Linked DNA regions of Homo sapiens: region 1 is linked to region 2. The links are contacts of gene promoters, found by promoter capture Hi-C in blood cells and fetal thymus (Javierre and others, 2016). All regions are on one chromosome and are shown on one strand. Each heading gives the region's core, a stretch centred on a gene start or on the middle of the fragment in contact. The rest is flanking DNA. Distances are from core to core; before and after follow the strand shown.

Evidence for each region. Contacts are between HindIII fragments. The CHiCAGO score rates a contact against its expected background, and 5 or more counts as called.
Region 1: a contact is called between a fragment that was not itself captured here and the fragment with the promoter of KAZALD1 in region 2, in 1 of 17 cell types (erythroblasts). The highest score is 7.1, in erythroblasts.

Annotation. Positions count from the first base shown.
Region 1 is chr10:101,814,048-101,817,564 of GRCh38, reverse strand. All of the region lies in intron 1 of OGA (O-GlcNAcase), which reads left to right. Among named protein-coding and RNA genes, the nearest start is that of OGA, 2.6 kb to the left of the region's middle. The HindIII fragment of the contact is 4,868 bases long and covers 1-3,517 here.
Region 2 is chr10:101,059,813-101,063,252 of GRCh38, reverse strand. KAZALD1 (Kazal type serine peptidase inhibitor domain 1) reads right to left here and starts at 1,264. Exons shown (of 5, transcript NM_030929.5): 1 at 1,138-1,264; 2 at 150-711. The coding sequence starts at 660. LOC107984262 (a long non-coding RNA gene) reads left to right here and starts at 2,502. Exons shown (of 2, transcript XR_001747569.3): 1 at 2,502-3,143. RefSeq lists silencers at 550-599, 1,780-2,199 and enhancers at 512-1,400, 2,327-2,621. The HindIII fragment of the contact is 11,916 bases long and covers 1-2,911 here.

The sequences.
Region 1 (3,517 bases), core at 227-2,726, 750 kb before region 2:
CGGTGGTTAAGAGCCTGGTGTTCTGTTAGCCTCTGAGTTCTACTTCTTTGTACCTTGGGATCTTATTCCCTAGGGTTGTCTGGTTCCAGTGAAAAAATATGTGTAGTGCTTCTGTCACCACCCTTTGTGGAAAATCGGCCCACACTGACGTGCTTGTACTTCTGGAGTGAAGAGAAGCACGTTTGGCCTATAGTATTTCAAGTTCCACTTGGCTTAGAATATTTTTGTTGCTTCCCCCCACCCCCGCAAAGATTCATTTGCAACTTAGAAAATTGCCCTCTTTCCCAGCTACTGTACTTTGCTCTCGAGGGATGAAACTTTGGCTTTAATCACAGATTCTCGAAGTATCTGAGATGCGTAATTGGAATTTAGTGACCGCAGAAGCGGCTTTAAAAATGCCCTTCTCGCCTTTTTTCCCATTTACAGTCGAAAAGAACGATGGACTTTTTGGTAGTGAGGGAAAATTACCAGATGCTTGTTTCAGTTTCTGGATGAGAATGGACAGATAGTCCACCTTGCAGCTCTGTAGAGGCACGAATCGGTTACATTATTAGTCTTTCCGCAGTTACAGCATGTATTTGAATTTTCTGAAGTATTTTGGCCGATTCAGAGTTTCCTAGATGTCTGTTTTATATCTCTCTCGTATGTAATGGCGTGGATAAGGGTAAAAAATATATATATTTAAAAAACCAAAAAGGTATGGAAAAAGGATTGCTCTCGACGTTGAGAACATCAGCTTTTCTGTTTTTTTTCACCATATAAATTAGAGTATTCTTTCGAAAAATGGGTGGTGGTTATGGTACAGACCATAACAGGCTACTTTGCTGCTACAGTAAGGCATGAAAGAGTTCAGCGAAGTTAACTGTCTTGCAGAATTTGGGGGATTACAGAATGGAAAACTGCTATATAGTATTCATCAAAAATGATTGCATTGTGTGACTTATATCGTTGTATTTATTGGCTTGAGTGCAGGGAGATTTTAGAAAAAGAATCTGGTTTTTGTTATCAAAGATCTTGGAGTGGGGATGAGAGAGTGCTGGGAAATTTCGGAGCTAGACTGGAATGAGTCTAAGGAAACTTGCCAGTCCATTATACCTTCAGTTATAAAAGGAGAAAACTCATTTGGTTTAAATTCGTTTGTTTAGAATAGCATTAAAAGGCGATTCTTCCTATTTAAAGAACAGAGTTGTCTGCCATTCTCTCGTTTATTCCTCCTCCCTCCCGTGCCCTTGTATATTTTCTTAGTGACTGAGCACCTGAGCCAGCACTGATTTTTTGTGTGTTTTGTTGTTTTTGTTTTGGGAGACGGAGTCTCGCTCTGTCGCCCAGGCTGGAGTGCAGTGGCGTGATCGCGGCTCACTGCAACCTCCGCCTCCCGGGTTCGAGCAATTCTCCTCCCTCACCCTCCCAAGTAGCTGGGACTGCAGACACGGGCCCGGCTAATTTTTTGTATTTTAGTAGAAACGGGTTTCACCGTGTTGCCCAGGCAGGTTTCCACCTACGGAGCTCAGGCAGTCCGCCCGCCTCGGTCTTCCAAAGTGCTAAGATTACAGGCGTGAACTACCGCGCCTGGCTTTTTTTTTTTTTTTTTTTTTTTTTTTCTCTCTTTTTGATACCTCTTGGTTGGCACCAGCCGTAAAATGAATGAGCATAGAAATACTATAGTTACTGCTAGGATTTCTTTTTTGTTTTCTTTCCATCACAAAACTCTCTTGGTTTTTAACTTACATTAACAGCATTGCTTCCTCTTTGTGGTGCCAGTCAACCGAAACCATGAACCTGACTCTCAAAAGAGCCAAGGTAGGGTTTCTAAAGATTAAAATGTTTAATTAAGCTAGACATTTGAAAAGTCTTTTTTTATATTGGAGCAACTCTGAAAGGATGTTTAATGCCTACTCCTTAAAAAAAAAATGATAATGCTAAGTGCCGTAGGGATGCTAAAGACTTGTATAGGTCTGCCTGATCAAGAATATTTTATATTGGCCGGGCGCGGTGGCTCACGCCTGTAATCCCAGCACTTTGGGAGGCCGAGGCGGGCGGATCACGAGGTCAGGAGATCGATACTAGCCTGGCCAACATGGCGAAACCCTGTCTCTACTAAAAATAGAAAAAATTAGCCGGGCGTGGTGGCGGGCTCCTGTAATCCCAACTACTCGGGAGGCTGAGACAGGAGAATCGCTTGAACCCGGGAGTTGGAGGCGTAGATTGCATTGAGCCGAGATAGTGCCACTGCACTCCAGCCTGGGCGACAGAGTGAGATTCCGCCTGAGAAAAAAAAAAAAGAATATTTTGTATCACTTGTGAGAGGCTAACATTAGATTGTCCAGATGAAAGTGCTACAGTTATACATTGGTATGTAATGAATTTTAATTTGGTCTGTCATTGTCCTTTTTGTGGTGCAGAGGAGTCATTCTGCCTAGAGATTGGAGCTAAAATACATTGCAGAAATTTGTTTTAGACTAGTCTCTTATGTAGATTGTGTGGGTTTATGTAGAACATTTTGTGTTCAGAATGCTTTTATTAACCTTCTTCATGGTACTCTTGAGAGGCTGTCCTTATCTCTTACTGATGATTAGACTGAGACAAGTGGAAAGTAAAGGTTAGACAAGATGTAAAGTGTGTGGTTTGAGCTGTGATGAGCACACTAGGGAGTTCCAGATACCAGTTTGATGCTTATTCAACCATTTAGGTTATCGGTCTGCGAGTTTGTTTTCTGCAGTGTGTGCATAACTAGTGTTTTGTCCTCTTAGAGGATACTCTGGGGACATTCTTGAGTTTTCTTTGTTTATTCCTTTCCGTTTAAGGACCAGAAGTAATATTCTTGAATTTTCATTTGTTCAGATCTTTGCTCTGTAATTAAGATTGCGTGAGAGTTTGTTGTTTGGGCCAGTTAGGCTGTTGAATTTCTTGGGAATGTGGTTTCAGGCATTTTTTGGTCCCTTTGATTATATCATTGTATGTGGAACTTTTTTTGAGAGAGAGAGTTTTGCTCTGTCACCTAGGCTGGAATGCAATGGCGCGGATCTTGGCTCACCGCAGCCTCCGCCTCCTGGATTCAAGCAGTTCTCCTGCCCTAGCCTCCCAAGTAACTGGAATTCCAGTCCTGGCCAGGAACTTTTTTTAAAAAAGAGGAGCACGATCATAAAATTAAGTCAGATTCTTTCCTAATCCTATCTCTGATTTGTTTTTAATTGCTTTACCTGTTTATCTCCCCTCACCCTTTTGTTGTTGTTGTTTGAGATGGAGTCTTGCTCTGTAGCCCAGGCTGTAGTGCAGTGACGCAGTCTCGGCTCACTGCAAGTCCGTCTCCCAGGTTCAAGTGATTGTTGTTTCTCAGCCTCCCAAATAGCTGGGATTACAGGCATTTGCCACCATACCTGGCTAATTTTTGTATTTTTAGTAGAGACATGGTTTCACCATGTTGGCCAGGCTGGGTCTGGAACTCCTGACCTCAAGTGATCTACCTGCCTCAGCCTCCCAAAGTGCTGGGATTACAGGCGTGGGTCACCTCACCCGG
Region 2 (3,440 bases), core at 15-2,514:
TAGCGAGAGCAGGGTTTTATACTGGACTCGAGGCCTCTATAGCCTTATCTTTTTTGCTCTGCTGGCCAGAGACCAATGCTGTCAGGGGTCGGGGAGCAGTGCCTCTAGGAAACCTAAGTGCTGGGGTGGGGGCCCCGGGCCATGCGTACCCGATTCGCAGGGCCCCGGGTGTGCCACAGTGAGGTTGGCATCGGGCCGAGCGCGGGCCGCCTCCTGCAGGCGGCAGATCTGGGAGTAGGTGTGACCGTCGGACCCGCAGAGCGGACTCTGCGAACGACAGGCACACAGAGGTTCCGGCACCTCTCCGCGGCTCAGGTCGCCGCCTGTGTCCAGCCGGCACTCAAGCTGCTCGCCGCAGTGCCCGTAGAAGTGAGCACTGGGGTCCAGGTCGCAGAGCTGGCCCTCGAGGTTGGCGCATTCCCAGCAGCAGCCGCACGCGTCGCGCACCCTGCCCGCCAGGCAGCCCCGCGGCGCGGCGCACTCTTCTGGCCGGCAGGGAGCGCAGCCCTCGCCCTCCGCTAGCAGCCGCATCCAGCCGCGCCGCAGGTAATCTGGGCCTGGGGATGGCCTTGCGCCGGTCGGGGGCGGCGTCAGCACCACCAGCAGTAGCAGGAGCACAGGCAGCGCCAAGGCAGCTGCGGGCCGCGGCGGCGGCAGCATGGTTAGCGGGAAGCCCTGCGAGCACTCGGGGCATCAGCGCGTTCGGGCACCCTGCCAGGAAGGGAAGCCAGGTCAGGAGGTCAGAAACAGGGCCTGTGCCGAAAGACCAACCTCACTGCTTCTTGTACCAAAGCATGACACTAGCATCGCCCCCTCCCCTGCTACCAAGTAGCCTCCCCCAACACACAGGCCTAGTGACCCTCTAGGGATTATCCAGTTATGGCAGTTAGCAATCAGTTGGGCTGTTCTTGGGAGGGCTGGGAGTGAAGAGAGGTGAGGAAAGGGTGATAAGGCTCAGGCGCACGCACACCCACCACCAGCACCACTTCCGTGCACCACCCGACTCCGATCCCTGGCCCCTGAGCATCCTTGCCCAAAGAGAATGGGTGGCTCCAGAAGTAAGAAGCTGCTAATGGGGGGTGAGAACTGGGGGGGCTGATGCCGCCTCGCTTATGGCCTGGGGCACAGAGTGCTCACCTAGTGTCCGGAACTAGACCCTTCGCAGCAGCCGTGATTCGAGTCCGAAAGAAAAGGTTATGGAAAGAAAGCAGAGGCGCAGTCAGCCGGGCCCGCCGGCCACCTCTGCTCCGTCCTGAGGACTTCTGAGAGAGCCCACGAACTTGGATTCAGAAAGCAGCTCCTCCGGCCCCCTCTCTCCGCCCCTCGACTTCGCGCACCCGCCTTCCCACTAGTTCTAAGGCTGCCAATTTTATGTAGCCGCATGGGACCCTCCCGGGTCATTTCCCCCAGCCTGGCCCAAAGTCACAATGCGAGCAGAGGAGCCGTAACCAGACACCGAGGCTGGGAGAGAGGAAGGGGGTGAGGACCGGAGGCGGGGAGTGGGGGTAGGAGTTTGGCTGGGAAGCTCAAAGTGTTGGCTGAACGGCTAGGCCCTGTCCCATCTGATTTTACAGTCCCTGGCGTCGGCGAGGGCAGCTGCATAAGGGGGAGGCGGCAGGAGCTCTGGTGCCAAGTCATTTTACGTCGATGTCGGGGCGCTCCTGGAGGGCAGGACCAACCACCTTCGTCTCCCCGCAGCCCAGGGCTGGTTCCCGGGAGCGACCGCAGGCTTGCCCACCCAGCTGCCCCACCAAGGCGCGGACAGACTGGGCGCCTACATCCGCCTTCCCTCATCTGGCCTCCTTCTTCCTCCCCACATCCGGCAGGTGCTGCGACCCGCGGGTGAGCCGGGTGATTCGAGGTCGGAGCCGACCAGCGGCCGCAGGGAGAGGCGGGCTGGCGCCTCCCCGGCGGGCGTCCCTCGGGTCGGGATTACAGGTTACGGTTGCGAGGCTGGCAGGGCCGGAGACACTCGGCCTCGCGGCCGCCACCACCGCCACCGTGGCACTTTGGGCCGGGGGCGGGGAGGAGAGCATTCCTAGGGGCCCGCCAGCCAAACCCGGGTCGGGCAGGCCCCGCCCCGGCCGGCCCCAAGCGGCTCACAGAAGCCTTGGCGCAGTCCAGCTCGCGGGGGGATGGGCGAGGGTGGGGGGCAGAAATAGCAATCTGCAGCCGGCAAGGGGGCGGCACTTAGTCAGGCTCCGCCCACAAGACCCGGCTGCCGTCCCCGCCCGCCTGCGCGGGATCGACTCCGCATGCGCACTGGAGCCTCGGAATACAGCCAGGACTCTCCCGTCGGAATGCGCCCCTAAGTTGGGCCAAGCCCATTCATTCAGGGGCTCCCGAGCCACGTAGGCGCCATCCCTGGCCAGAGGGGTTCTGAGGAGGTGGGCAAGGGCAGACACTCTCTCCCGGTCTCAAATTCGAAATAGGGACTAGAAGGGAACTTCACGCGAGGCCTCGCAACTGTCGCGAGAATCAGAACAGGAAATCTAGGAACCGAGAACACTAAGAGCCCGCGGATTTTAAACAGGAAAAAGAAAGGGCGGAGCAAACTCTGGCGGATAGTTGTGAGTAATCCCTGGTCCTTGGAATAAGTGTCGACCTGAGACAGAAGGGGAACTGTCAGAGAGCTGCCGGAGACCCTGAAAAAGGCCAGAGACGGGGACTTGTGGGGCTGACGAATGGAATCACCCAAGGAGAGGTCTCTGACTCTAACAAAACACCTTGGGGACGGAGCTCCTTGGCTGGGATACAGAGCAGACAAGTCCGGGATCTTTTAGTGAATTGCTGCCGGCTTCTAAGGCCTGGAGCAGATATTCAACAACAAACTCCACGGACCTAGAAACTCTCCACTTATCCTACTATTGTAGACGGTGGCTTACTTTTAGTCTTCCCTATGCTCTAAGCTTCTGGTAGTAGGAATCGTGCCTAACTCACTACTGTATCTTGTGAACCTAGCCCCGCGCCTGGTGGCACGTCAAATTCTCGGTAAATATTTGTGGATTAAATGTGAAAGACTGCCTGAGTGTTTAACCTGGATTTTCTGAGTCGCTGATGGAGAACAGTAGGTAGACGGGGAACCAGCGCCCTCTGGTGGGCTTGTGGTTCGTGACGAGAACATGCTGGAACCGTGCATCCAGGTAGGCACAAAGATAATAAAAGGGGATCCGCTGTTATTAAGTAGAGATTTTGTTACATTAAAACCCTACATACCGTAAAAATGCTTTTAGAAGGGAGTTTTTTGAATAGGACACAACTTGAAAGTTTAGATACATTCCCCGATCCTCAACATCCCATACTTTATCCATCAAGGCTCCAAAATATTCAGTAACACCTATGCGCATCATACATAGTAAAGAGATAGCAAATGATTTTGCGTATATATACTTTGAAAATGTTTACTCGGTTTTGTGCAAAACAGGCCAAAGGGAAGGGAT